Regions from separate parts of the Homo sapiens genome. Here regions 2, 3, 4 and 5 are each linked to region 1. Evidence: promoter capture Hi-C in 16 types of primary human blood cells and fetal thymus (Javierre and others, 2016). All regions are on one chromosome and are shown on one strand. Each heading gives the region's core, a stretch centred on a gene start or on the middle of the fragment in contact. The rest is flanking DNA. Distances are from core to core; before and after follow the strand shown. Region 1 holds the start of CSTA (cystatin A). Region 2 overlaps FBXO40 (F-box protein 40). Region 3 overlaps IQCB1 (IQ motif containing B1). Region 4 overlaps IQCB1 (IQ motif containing B1). Region 5 overlaps IQCB1 (IQ motif containing B1).

Region 1 (2,735 bases), core at 158-2,657:
AAAGAACTCTTGAAAGAGAAATAATTAGTCCCCAAGAATGAGTGATGGGATTCTAGGCATCTGGCCCCTTAGAGAGCTTTCTAGTTCCCAGAATATACAGGATCCCAACTCTTATAATCACACAAAAAGCTGATCTTGTTTTCCAAGCTGTCATAGAATGATGTTTCAGAGAGAAAAAATAAGAAGGAATAATATAAGAAAATAAGGCAACAAACTAAAAACCTAAAGTAGTAATTTGTACATGTTTTCCTTTCATAAAATATGCAAATAAATGTTTACTACATAGCTAGATGATAGCTAATCACACAAAGAAAAATATATCAGGGATGGGTGTGGTGGCTCACGCCTGTAATCCCAATACTTTGGGAAGCCTAGGTGAGTGGATGGCTTGAGCCCAGGAATTCAAGACCAGTCTAGCAACAGAATGAAATGCCATCTCTAAAAACAAAACAAAACAAAACCCCCCAAATCAGCCAGGCGTGGTGGCATATGTCTGTAATCCCAGCTACTCAGGAGGCTGAGTGGGGAGGATCGCTTGAACTCAAAAAGTTGAGGCTACAGTGAGCCGTGATCAGACCATTGCACTCCAGCCTGGGTGACAGAGTGAGACCCCATCTCTTAAAAATGAAACAAAACAAAACAAAAAAGAAGAAGTGAAAAACACATCAATCTGCTAACAACATTGAGTTCTATTTTTCCATATATAATTTGGTGCCCTATGACATTTCGGAGTCACTATAGACTGTCACCTCTGTTCTATTAGTTGAATTACCTTTTAACTATGAAAAGACTAAAACACTATCTATTTGGGCAAAAGTGTATGAAGTTTGTAAGTAGATTGCCTTTACAATATTATTCTTCATTCAATCTATTTAAAAAAATTTTCCCTGCAGTGCATTCCAAGACTACTTCATCAAATTGTTAATAACCTTAGACTTCAATTACACGTTGGCTTCACTTGGTGAGATTAGAAAAGTTTCATCAGAAACTGAATTAGTAATTCTAGAATCATATCTTGTAAGAGCTTTAGAGAAGATACAATACAAATTCTTTTACCCATGGAGAAAATGAAGCTCAGAGAAGAAATGTGATTTGCTCAAGGTCACACTCACAGTTTGGGGATTATTTGAGGCTTCATCTGAAAAACTCTTATTTCATCTTAGTTGTAAAGAAACCTGAACAAAGCCACAAACATCCTAAACTTCTGGTTTTCATGTTCAACCACAGCCTTTCCACAGGGACAACTTATGAATCAAGATTTTGGCTCAGACTTTTTCCTGAATGGCATCAACTCACCTTATCAACAATCTCCTGGATTTCTGGAGTGGCGGGTTTGGCCTCAGATAAGCCTCCAGGTATCATTTTGGCTGATTGCTTCTTTGCTGGACAGGATGCTGGAACCAAAGTGAACAGGGAAGTGTGGAGACTCGTGTTTTAAAAGAGGCGTTCACTAGCTCCGCCTATAGAATGCTTTATTTTCCACAAACAGCAAAGAGGCATGGGGAAAATGAGTATGCCGCCAGGCAAGTCTTCTTGCTTCCTGGAGAGAATATGCTACATGGAATTTGGAAGAAAGAGGGGTTGGAGGATGAACAAATGGGCAAGTACAGGAGTCATGTCCTAACAAGCATCAAACGTCCCTGCATTCTCTTTGACAATGGTTCCATCCTGTTGCATCATCTGAATTATGAAATCTGAAGCCGCAACTAGAATTTCCAAATGTTTTAAAACTTCTAACACAAAATTTTATTTTTTTTAAAGCAAAACTTACTAATAATGTCAAGGTTAGTTTAGAATTTACTTGACTTTAGAAAGAAAGCAAAAGGATCTATCTGGAGGACCTTGGCTGGATGTGTCTTCTTTACTCTTATTTAAATATCTGGAAATGTTTAACATACGGTAAAACACAAAGAATAAAATAACAAACATCTATATTTCTATCACTCAGAATTAAAACTTTTAACCCTTTTGTCATATTTGCTTGCTGTTTTTTATTTTTGTAGTTATTTTTAGGAAATAAAATATTACAGATATGGAGGAAGCCCCACACCCCACGCAACCTTGCCTTCCAGAAGGCAAAGTACATGGTGAATTAATATCCTTCCAGGCCATTTTTATATGTGTGTCTTTAAAATTAAAATATGTCTTACTTGGTGTGTCTTTAAAATTTCACTTAAATTGTATGCTAAATATATTCTATGTTATGTTCCTTTTTCTATTCAACATGTTTTTGAGCCTTTCTATGTTGATATACACATAGATCAATCCACAGATAGATCAATCCTGTTCATTTCCTTTAACTGTGATATGCTATTTTATGCTAGACCTATCTATTTAGTCTACCTATCTAATTGCTATATTCTAGTTCATATTTTACATACTCATTTCTCTATTGATGACGATTTTCGTTGTTTCTGGTGTTTCATTCTTACAAACAACGTTGCATTTTTTCTCCTTTTTACATGAGTGAGGGCTTCTGCAGACAACTTATCTAGAAGCAAAATGGCCACATTGTGTGAATATTTATGTATATTATTTTATTCAATTTTGGGAATATATAATACATACACAGGATAAAAATGTTTGGAAGGAACCAGGCTTTACAATATAAGGAATTATTCACTCACTTAATTCCTCAGACACCCTTCTACTCTCCAGAGACAATTATTGGCACCAACTTCTTCTGTATCCTTCAGAGACATTCTTTACACATACAAATATAAAAATAATTGGAG
Region 2 (2,735 bases), core at 1-2,500, 700 kb after region 1:
CACATTTGGCCAGCGGTTCCACTCCATGGAGCAGCAGACCACGCTGGCGGGGCACACCTGCAGGTGCTTGGCCAGTTTGTGGCGGGACATGGACAGAGGGCAGCCATATTCGGAGTTGAGGCACGGAACCTGCTCTAAAGGGCAGAGGAGCTGGTGCTCTGCCTCTTTGCACATGTGGAAGGTGGCACCACAGAGCAGGTGGCAGCTTATTACCAGGCAGGAGGTGTTGGGTTCCACAGGAATGTGGCAGTGGCGGTTGAAGCATCCCTCACAATGCCTGTGGTGCCCTGGCGGGGATCTGCGGGCTTTCCCCTGGACACACCAAGGACAGGGGGAAGAAAACAAATGAATACTGAGGAGAAGCTCTATGCATGTCTATGACTGTGTTTTAATTGACATATTTCCTGTTTATACCTGCTTTTTGTAGAAACCTTGAAATATATGGAATATCACAATCCCACAATCCAGAAATAACAACTATAAGTACTTTTTAGAATTTTCCAATAGTTTATTATATATATGTAGTAGATGTGTTTAGAATAGGAAAAAAAGAATTGAATATAATGGACTACACTGTTGACAATTGTTATTTTTGAGTTGTGGATTACAGGTTATTTATATCATACGGATAATACTATGAATACAACTTTTCATCCTGCTTTTTATCTTGCTATTAGAACATGAAACTAGATTGTTTTATTAGTTATTCTTTACAAACTTTCTTCATAATGGCAGTGTAACATTCCGGAATATGGGTGTGCTATCATTTAATCAACTACCACCAGAGTGCGGGCTGGGAGGACAGCAGCCATGTCTGGTTTTGCTCGCATTTATGTCCCTAGCATCTAGCATGGGACCTGGACCTTTGTGGGTATTCAATGCTTGCTGAATGAAGGAATTGCTAGCCATTTAGATTATTGCTGGCTTTTTGACTATTTTATTTAAATTTTCACTTAAACTCTTTGCTCAAAAATCCTTCTCAACTGTTTTCCCCTTACTCTGTGTCAATTTCTTCCAAGTTCTGTTCAGCATCTCTAGTTTGGAAAAAAGTTGATAAATATCATCAAACCATAAGAGCAAGTCTGCTAGCTGCTTGGGCTACAGGATAAATGAAGGAAGACCTGGACCTCTCAATGGTGAAGCTTCAATAAGCTCCTGGTGCTTACCATGGCGCCCCAATTTCTTCTTGCTTCTTAGCTCTACGGGAAAATATGAATATAAATAATTAGTAAGAAAAACAGTTAGGTTACCTATATTAATAGAGGCTAAAGAGACTTCACACACTATCTCATTTAATTCCTTCCACCATCCTGGAGGTGTCTTTATCTCCATGTTTGAGTCAAGGAAACAGAAGCTTGAAGGTAAGTAACTTGTCCAAGGTCACACAGCTGCTAAGTGATGGAATCAGCTTTGTAATCCAGGCCATGCTGGCCCATGTTATTTTCACTGACCCCCGCTGCCCTCTGATAGGGCATATTACCAATCATGGGATGTTAACTTCTGCTTCCTATAACTTTCTCCATTGTCTGCTGACAATTATCCTGGCATCCTAAACACTCTGCTACCCACAATCTGGCCTAGGTTACCTTCTAATCTTCTCTTCCACTGGGGCTTCCTGTCCACTTAGAGGTTAGTCTGAGATCTAACTTTGTCTGGGGCAGTGTATAGGTGTCTGTGAAATATCTGTAACATGCCATTTCCCCTGGTATATTCAGCTGTGCTAGAGCAGGGGTCAAAACCCCAAAGGTCCCAGAAGTTGACTGAATGGAGACTCTGGCAAGTGAAAGAGAAAATGCCCTGTCTTCAGGGAAATGAAATTTCTCAGCCCTGGTTAATTGATGCCATGTGGGAATGTGTTGCCAGACCTGGTTTTTCCAGAGACAGTGGGGATGCGGACTTTTGTGAGCTGTGATATGGTTTAGTGGTTAGAAGGCAGACTGCACAGGTTTCCACCCTGGAGCTACAAGTCAGTGGCTGTGAGACTTTGGGAAATTTACTTCACTTCTTCGCTCATCAGTTTCCCCATCAGTAGAGAGAGGATAATAATAGTACCTATCCCATAATGCTGCTGTAAGGAGTAAATGACCTAAATATACATGAAACTCTTAGAACAGTGCTTGTTTCACAGGCAGTGATCTATACATGTTTGCTATTATAAAGTAGTATTTTATATTTCATCACAATGCAAAATATTTTACTACATAATATATCGAAATAAAAATACTCTGAATTTTAAATGTTAACAACTAACTTAATTTAAAACAACACTATTTGAGCCAAGGAAAAATGTGAATGCTGGCCAGATAGGATCTGTAGGTTGCCAGTTTGCAATATCTGGTCTACAGAATTTGTAACATAATTTCAGCACAGTGTTAGTCTGTGATGGAGTGGGGAGGTTAGCATCCAAATGTCAGAAGATCCATAAGTTTAAAATTTGGCCAGGCGCAATGGCTCACACCTGTAATCTCAGCACTTTGTGAGGCTGAGGTAGGTTGATTGCTTGAGCCCAGGAGTTCAAGACCAGTCTGAGAAACATAGCGATACCCTGTATCTACTAAAAAAAAAAACAGTTAAAAAATTAGCGGGGCATGGTGGTGCACGCCTATGGTCCCAGCTACTTGAGAGTGACACTGACGTGGGAGGATCGCTTGAGCCTGAGAGGTCAAGGCTGCAGTGAGCTGTAATGACACCACTGCACTCCAGCCTGGGTGAGAGAGTAAGACCCTGTCTCAAAA
Region 3 (2,735 bases), core at 101-2,600, 550 kb after region 1:
TCCAGAATACTAATCAGCATGTACATGTGAGGAAATTATCCAAAGCCAAATTATCGAGTCATCTGAAAAGGTAAGACGGAAGTGTGTCTGGAACTCACATAGGTCCAGGAATAGTATCTGTTCCCATCAAATATGCTGGAGAAACTCATAATTCACAGGGTATTGTGAAGAGTACTCAGGAAGACCTTCCCTTAATAGTAGATTATGATTAGCCTAGACGGCTCCATTCTGCCAAACAAATTATAAAATCAAGAGTCAAAAAAAGATTAAAATGTTTTCATGTAATTTAACAGCATCCCAAAAAAAGACTCAAAATTTTAAGAAATATCAAAATATCCAGCACCCAACAAGGTAAAAGTCACAATGTCTAGCAGCTAATCAAATATTAAAGGCATGCATGGAAGTAGGAAAACAGGACCCATAATGAGGAGGATATTCAGTCAAACCAACCCAGAAATTACATAGATGTTAAAATTGGCAGAGAAGGGCATTAAAACAGTCATTATAACTGTATTTTATATGTTCAAAAAGTCAAGTAGAAAGATGAAAAATGTAAAAAAAAATACCTGAATCAAACTCCTAGAGATAAAAACTTCAAAGTATGGTGTGAAAAATATACTTGATCAAAATAATAGCAGATTAGACTTTGCTGGATGGAAGATTAATATAGGTGAAGCCATACTAGTAGATACTGTACAAAATGAGTCACAGAGAGGGGAAAAAAGAGAAAAATATTTGAAAAGACCATTACTGAGCTGTGGGACTGTAAGTGGCCCAGTAAATGAAAACTTGGAATCCCTGAAGGAGATGTAGAGAAAAATAATGGCTGAAAACTTTCCAAACTAAAAATGATAAGCCCATACCCAAACCAGTTAAGGTACATGGAAAAAACTGTGCCAAGGAATATCATAATCAAAATTGTCAAACCAGTGATACAGTGAAAATCTTAAAAACAAAAAAAAATTTTTATATATATACTTTTTATTATACTTTAAGTTCTAGGGTACATGTGCACAAGGTGCATGTTTGTTACATATGTATACATGTGCCATGTTGGTGTGTAAAAAAATTTTTAAATGTTACGTAAAGACAAAGATTACATTGCTCAGTAGGAACAGTGCAAGCAAGAAGATACCTTTTTTTTTTTTTTTTTGAGACAGAGTTTCGCTGTTGTCACCCAGGCTGGAGTGCAGTGGCGCAATCTCTGCAACTGCCGCCTCCCGGGTTCAAGTGATTCTCCTGCCTCAGCCTCCCAGGTAGCTAGGATTACAGGCGCCTGCCATCATGCTCAGCTAATTTTTGTACTTTTGGTAGAGATGGGGTTTCACCATGTTTACCAGGCTGGTCTCGAACTCCTGACCCCAGGTGATCCACCCATCTCAGCCTCCCAAAGTGCTGGGATTATAGGCATGAGCCACCACCCCCGGCGAAAGATATCTTGCTTTAAAGTACTGAAAGGAAAAAAAGTTGTCAACCTAGAATTCTGTACCTGGCAAAAAAATATTGTTAAAAAAAAAAAGACTTTTTCAGACATACAAAAGCTGAAAGACTTGATCACCAGTACACTTGCACTACCAAAAATGTTAAATCCTTAAAGTTGTAAAGGATTTAACATTGCAGAAATGTTAAATTCTTTTTATTTGTGTAGATTGAGGGAGTAAAAATGCACATTTACATGCCTATATTGCAAGCTCCTGCCCAGCAAAATAAACAGTCAACAGTAAACAGCCTATAGAATGGGAAAAAATAGTTGCAAGCTATACATCTAACAAAGGGCTAATATCTAGAATCTACAAGGAACTCAACTCAAGAAGAAAAAGACAACCCCATTAAAAAGTGGGCAAAGCCAGATGCTGTGGCTCATGCCTGTAATCTTAGCACTTTGGAATGCCAAGGCCAGGAGGATTGCTTGAGCCCAGGAATTCGAGACCAGCTTAGGCAACATGGTGAGACCTGGTCTCTACAAAAAATTTAAAAATTAGCCAGGCATGTTGATGCCTGTCTGTGGTCCCAGCTACTTGGGAGACTGAGGTGGGGCGATCACTTGAGCTCAGGAGGTTGAGGCTGCAGTGAGGCATGTTCATGCTACTGCACTCCAGCCTGTGTGGCCGAGTGAGACCCTGTCTCAAAAAAAAAAAAAAAGTGGGCAAGAAACATGAACAGACGTATATACAAGTGGTCAACAAACAATGAAAAATGCTCAATATCACTAATCATCAGAGAAATGTAACTTAAAATCATAATAAATAATCATATTATACCAGTTAAAATGGCTATTACTACAAAGTCAAAAACAACAGATGTTAGCAAGGATGTGGAGAAAAGGGAACACTTACACACTGTTGGTGTGAATGTAAATCAGAAATGTTAAGTTCTTTAAGGTGTAAAAGACTTAACATTTCTGTTTAAAATGATGCCAGGAAAAGATACCAGAGAGAAATCTGGCTCTACATAAAGAAATTAAGAGCACTGGAAATGGTAATTACAGCCATGTGTCACATAATGAATTTTCAGTCAGTGTTGGACCATATATACAACAGTGGTCACATAATATTGTAATGGTATATTTTTACTGGACATTTTCTACATTTATATATGTTTACATATACAAAAACTTACCATTGCATTAAAATTGCTTACTGTATTCAATACAATAACATGCTGTACAGATTTGTAGCCTAAGAGCAATAGGGTATACCACATAGCCTACATATGTAGTAGTCTATACCATTTAA
Region 4 (2,735 bases), core at 138-2,637, 530 kb after region 1:
TTATTTAGAAATTTGAGGCAGCAAGTTATTGATTATTTCATCATACTTCCTCTAGCATACTCAAAATGATGGCTCTAAATAGCCCATTCAACAGGAAGAGGCATATTGCTTTCTGATTTCCAGATAAAGACTTAAATATGGAAAACATCTAAAATGACTAAAGATATTTTTTAATTTAAAAGGAAAAGGGGACATTGTATATCCAAAATCCAAAACCAAAAAGACAATAAATTTAAAAATACAAGCAGAAACCATGAAAATAAGTCCAGTAAGGCAGGAGAATGGGTTGGGGGAGGCTGGAAGGAAGAGTGCAGAAGAAGGGAATTCCTTTTTTCTGTATATATGAACCATCGTGAGTTTAGATTAATCTCAAAACTATGCATATGCTCAAATTCATATTGATTAGGTAACAAAATCATAAAACTATATTTTATTATTAATAGTTGTACCCTTTGCCATTCCATTTGAGGACTCAGAAGTCTATTAAGTAAACAGGAGACTGGGACAGAATTCAGTCAAGAACTCAGACAGCTCACTGACCTTTTAAGCCCAATGGTCTATCAGGAGAATAGCATATCAAAAGCTTACAGAACTAAACAGAGATTCGAGCAACCATCCACAATGGTCAACAGAGCTTATAGTTTGAACCTAACTAGGTTGATTGCCTATTAAGTAAAAACATTAACATGTTAGCTCAAAAAAGATTATGAAAGGTCAGGCGGACTATGAAATCTTTGAAAAGGAAATGGAAGTGAGATTATTCTGGGAGAATTTGGAGCTAACTAGACTATATCTTGAGTATGTTCTAGAAATTGCCTTACCAAGCCTAACATACCTCCTTTGGGAGGTAAGGTTTAATATTCTTACCCATCTTGTTAGAGCTAGAGATTAATATTTGCCCTAACCTGATACTTTAAGAGGTAAACTTTTTTTTTTTTTTAAAGACCTTCCTAGAGATATCTCTAAATTATTTTCGGCATTTCAGAAACTACATCAAGCAGCATGCTTGATTCAAGCCTATTGGAAGGGTTTTCAGACAAGAAAGAGATTAAAGAAGCTTCCATCTGCTGTGATTGCTTTGCAGAGGAGTTTCAGGTAAAAAAATTTGGTGAGGGGATTGATGATCATAGAATCTTACTAGAGTACAGTTGAATTGAAATTTAGGTGATTTTTTTTTAATTTCCTAGTATGTTTCTTGTTATCTTTTCATTTTTTTTCCATACGTTTCTGGGTACCAACACTCCAGTAACCAGATGCACTTTCAAAGCAAAGGATGTAAGACAGGAATCTGATGTGTCAAATATGCAATCCTATCCACTTAATAAGATATTTGGGGAGGGGCCAAGCCTACAAAGGGAGCCAATGATAGTTATATTATTAAACCCTCTAAACCAACAGTTATCATAATTTCGTGTGTATAATTATAACAATAACATGTATGCGTATAAGAGTTTAAGTCTGTTAACCTGATTTTCCTGAATAAATATGGCATGGATGGATATCTTCATTGAATTATGATATAGTTCGGCATTTATTTCAAGTAGACTGAAAAGGAAATACTGAAGACATAGCCCACTTTCTGCAATGACTTAACCAATCCAGATCCTCCAAGGTCACAGAACAAGAAAAAATAACTTAGCTTCTAGGTAATTTATGGTAAAGAAGATCTGTTTCAGAGGTGACTTTTTCATGCAGCCTAACTTAAAGCCAAGCTTTAGTTTGCTAAAATGAAACTGGCATTTTACAGAAGTTAATTCTTTAAAGAAAACTGAAACTATTCTTTTAATAACTGCAGATGCATTTCTCAGTTATAAAAACATTTAAAAATAGCTCTGGGGTTCAAAATACTATGTAGTCACAGAGTTGAAGACATTGAAATCACTCTAGCTAACTGTGTCTCTTAGTGGGTATCCTATTAATTGATGAACGTTTTCTTCAGGGAAGAATTAAAGATGGATTTTAAATATTATTGGGCATGAATATTGTTGGTAGCAAAGAAAAGAATTAATTTTTAAATATATATCAAATGCCTAGTATATGATATATGTACTAGGCATTTAACAGATTCGAGTTTGTATCTCACTTGAGCAGCTTACTGGTTGAGTGAACTTGGACAATCCCCCACCTCTCTCAGCCTCAAACTTCCAATCTATAAAATGAGAATAATAGTTTATACACTTGTATGATCAAGATAATGTAAAATTTGAGATAATACAAAGTTTTTAGCATATTATCTGGCACTTAAAAAATGATAGAAGGAAAAATGCATATGGCACATTTTCTGTCCTTGAAAATTTACAAATCTAGGTAAACAAATAGATGCATTAAATAGGTAGTACTAATGAGAAGCAAGTATTATCCATCTATTATTACTCAAAGTTTATTGCCTATCTTACAAGCTGTTTTTTTTTTAAAAGCATTTCTGTGGTTAGATAAATTTGGGAAATATTGAGTACTTTTTGAGTCACAGTGTATATTTTTCTACCCAAAGCATCTGAGGTGCTCTTGGTATTGCCTCTGTGGTGAATTCAGATAGAGTAGGTATTACTTATGGATTCCACCTGCTATCATCCTTAGTTACCTGTCATCTTAAATTTAAGGGTACCCTTATACATGGATTCAGAGCATTAATGTTTAGTCCCACAAGAGTTCCCAAATTTGCTCATATACTCTCTCTTTCAATATTAAAATCTCTATTTAAAAGTAGCCCAGGATTACAGATTTTTTTCTACTTA
Region 5 (2,735 bases), core at 154-2,653, 510 kb after region 1:
CATAGTTCCATATTCCTTGGAGGCTTTGTTCATTTCTTTTCATTCTTCTTTCTCTAATCTTGTCTTCACACTTTATTTCATTAAGTTGATCTTCATTCTCTTATATCCTTCCTTCTGCTAGATCAATTTGGCTATTGATACTTGTGTATGCTTCATGAAGTTCTCATGCTGTGTTTTTCAGCTCCATCAGGTCATTTATGTTCTCCTAAACTGGTTATTCTAGTTAGCAATTTGTCTAACCTTTTTTCAATGTTCTTAGCTTCCTTACACTGGGTTAGAACATGCTCCTTCAGCTCAGAGGAGTTTGTTATTACCCACCTTCCGAAGCCTACTTTTGTTAATTATCAAACTCATTCTCAGTCCAGTTTTTGCCCTTGCTGGGGAGGAATCGCGATCATTTGGTGGAGAAGAGGCGTTCTGGTTTTTGGAATGTTCAGCCTTTTTGTGCTGGTTTTTCCTCATCTTCATGGATTTGTCTACCTTTGATCTTCGATGCTGATGACCTTTGGATGGGGATTTTGTGTGGGTGTCCTTTTTGTTGATGTTGATGTTATTGCTTTCTGTTTGTTAGTTTTCCTTCTAACAGGTCCCTCTTCTGCAGGTCTGCTGGAGTTTGCTGGAGGTCCACTCCAGACCCTGTTTGCCTGGGTATCAGCAGCAGAGGCTGTAGAACAGCAAATATTACTCACACCTCCTTCCTCTGGAAGCTTCGTCTCAGAGTGGCACCTGCCTGATTCCTGCCAGAGCTCTCCTGTTTGGAGGTGTCTCCCAGTCTGGAGGCACAGGGTCAGGGACCCACTTGAGGAGGCATTCTGTTCCTTAGCAGAGCTCTAGCACTAACAAATTCAAATTCAGTATATCAACTGTGCTGGGAGATGCGCCGCTCTCTTCAGCGCTGGCAGGCAGGAACATTTAAGTCTGCTGAAACTGCACCCACAGTCTCCCCTGTCCCCAGGTGCGCTGTCCCAGGGAGATGGGAGTTTTATGTATAAGCCTCTTACTGGGGCTGCTGCCTTTGTTTCAGAGATGACTTGCCCAGTGAGGAGGAATCTAGAGAGGCAGTCTGGCCACAGCTGCCTTGCTGTGCTGCAGTGAGTTCCACCCAGTCCAAACTTCCCAGTGGCTTCCTTAACACTGTGAGGGGAAAACTGCCGACTCAAGCCTCAGTAATGGTGGATGCCCTTCCCACCACCAAGCTCAGTTGTCCCAGGTTGGTCGACTTCAGACTGTTGTGCTGGGAGCGAGAATTTCAAGGCAATGGTTCTTAGCTTGCTGGTCTCCGTGGGAGTGGGACCCGCTGAACAAGACCTCTTGGCTCCTTGGTTTCAGACCCCTTTCCAGGGGAGTGAACAGTCTGTCTTGCTGGGGTTTTAGCCACCACTGAGGTACAAAAAGAAACTCGTGCAGCTAGCTCAGTGTCTGCCCAAACAGCTGACCAGTTTTGTGCTTGAAACCCAGGGCCCTGGTGGTTTAGGCACACAGGGAATCTCCTGGTCTGTGGGTTGCAAAAACCATGGGAAAAACGTAGTATCTGGGCCAGATAGCACAGTCCCTCCCTTCCCTTGGCTAGGGGAGGGAGGTCCCCAGCCCCTTGCACTTCCCAGGTGAGGCAATGCCCCACTCTGCTTCTGCTTGCCATCTGTGGGCTGCGCCCATTGTCTAACCAGTCCCAATGAGATGAACTGGGTACCTCAGTTGGAAATGCAGAATCACTGCCTTCTGCATTGCTATTGCTGAGAGCTTCAGACCAGAGCTGTTCCTCTTCAACCATCTTGCCAGATCCCCCTGGCAGAGAATTTAACTCAGTGGTAGAGCATATGTGTTCCATGTAACAGGTTACAAATTCCATTTCTGATATCTCCACTGGCATTTTGTGGGATGTTAGCACTAAATAAATATTTGCTAGATTTAGTTTAATTCAGGTTAGTTGAAGCCACATAAACTATAGGAATTGTGTTGGATTTGATTTCTTTTGCTGGCTGTGCCACAAACTAACTCTAGGTTCTATAGCAAATCACTGGATTTCACTGTATCTCATTTTCCTCATTTGTAAAATAATTTCTGTCCCATTAATAGCTCAGACCATTATGTAAGCTTTATCTTTTCTTCAAAGCACCTTTATTTAATATTCCTATTTAAGAGCATTAATAATTCTTTTTCCTTATATATTATTAAAATTATGTATTAATATGTTATGTATTTGTATATTACTTTCATTATAAATATACTTATTCAGTTAATTATTTTCATTTATAGAATCCTTAATACTTTTCATAATATTTTTCTGTCCTTTATTATTGTATTTTTATTGAGATAAAGATTCTTTAATGTTATCCAAGAATTAATTGGCTACAGAAAAAGTAAGGCCACTTAACCACAGGGCAAAATTAAAACAGGGGCATAAAAAAGATGTGGCAAAAACTTGAATTAATTTATTAGTCTATTTACCTAGGAGCTTTTCAATCAGATTTTTGTTTTAATTAGATAGTACATAGTTAGTAGATCATATGGTGGGACATACACGTTCTGACCTAAAATACAAAGTGGTTTTGTGTGAGTATATGTGAGAATTTCGATTTAAAGGTAAATTTTGTTAACCTGCCTCAAGAACCATGAATTTGTGGGTGACATTATCTAATGTGCATTTTAAGGAAAGTAGGAAGTCTAAGAGTACAACACTATCTTTTGGGATTGACAACAATGAGAATTACCATGCCCTTTCTGATGTATCTTTA

Evidence for each region. Contacts are between HindIII fragments. The CHiCAGO score rates a contact against its expected background, and 5 or more counts as called.
Region 2: a contact is called between a fragment that was not itself captured here and the fragment with the promoter of CSTA in region 1, in 2 of 17 cell types (total B cells and erythroblasts). The highest score is 5.7, in total B cells.
Region 3: a fragment that was not itself captured here is called in contact with the fragment with the promoter of CSTA in region 1 in 1 of 17 cell types (monocytes); the score reaches 5.0 in monocytes.
Region 4: a fragment that was not itself captured here is called in contact with the fragment with the promoter of CSTA in region 1 in 1 of 17 cell types (monocytes); the score reaches 5.5 in monocytes.
Region 5: a contact is called between a fragment that was not itself captured here and the fragment with the promoter of CSTA in region 1, in 1 of 17 cell types (monocytes). The highest score is 5.4, in monocytes.

The regions. Positions count from the first base shown.
Region 1 is chr3:122,323,920-122,326,654 of GRCh38, reverse strand. It overlaps CSTA (cystatin A), which reads right to left and starts at 1,407. Exons shown (of 3, transcript NM_005213.4): 1 at 1,297-1,407. The coding sequence starts at 1,362. The HindIII fragment of the contact is 6,914 bases long and covers 1-2,735 here.
Region 2 is chr3:121,619,010-121,621,744 of GRCh38, reverse strand. It overlaps FBXO40 (F-box protein 40), which reads right to left. Exons shown (of 4, transcript NM_016298.4): 2 at 1,167-1,199; 3 at 1-312. The coding sequence starts at 1,169. Among named protein-coding and RNA genes, the nearest start is that of FBXO40, 27 kb to the right of the region's middle. The HindIII fragment of the contact is 212 bases long and covers 1,145-1,356 here.
Region 3 is chr3:121,777,318-121,780,052 of GRCh38, reverse strand. The region is part of intron 13 of IQCB1 (IQ motif containing B1); the gene reads left to right. Among named protein-coding and RNA genes, the nearest start is that of GOLGB1, 29 kb to the right of the region's middle. The HindIII fragment of the contact is 3,795 bases long and covers 1-2,735 here.
Region 4 is chr3:121,793,817-121,796,551 of GRCh38, reverse strand. It overlaps IQCB1 (IQ motif containing B1), which reads left to right. Exons shown (of 15, transcript NM_001023570.4): 10 at 986-1,095. Among named protein-coding and RNA genes, the nearest start is that of IQCB1, 40 kb to the left of the region's middle. RefSeq lists an enhancer at 1,546-1,595. The HindIII fragment of the contact is 655 bases long and covers 1,060-1,714 here.
Region 5 is chr3:121,810,036-121,812,770 of GRCh38, reverse strand. The region is part of intron 5 of IQCB1 (IQ motif containing B1); the gene reads left to right. Among named protein-coding and RNA genes, the nearest start is that of IQCB1, 24 kb to the left of the region's middle. The HindIII fragment of the contact is 1,387 bases long and covers 710-2,096 here.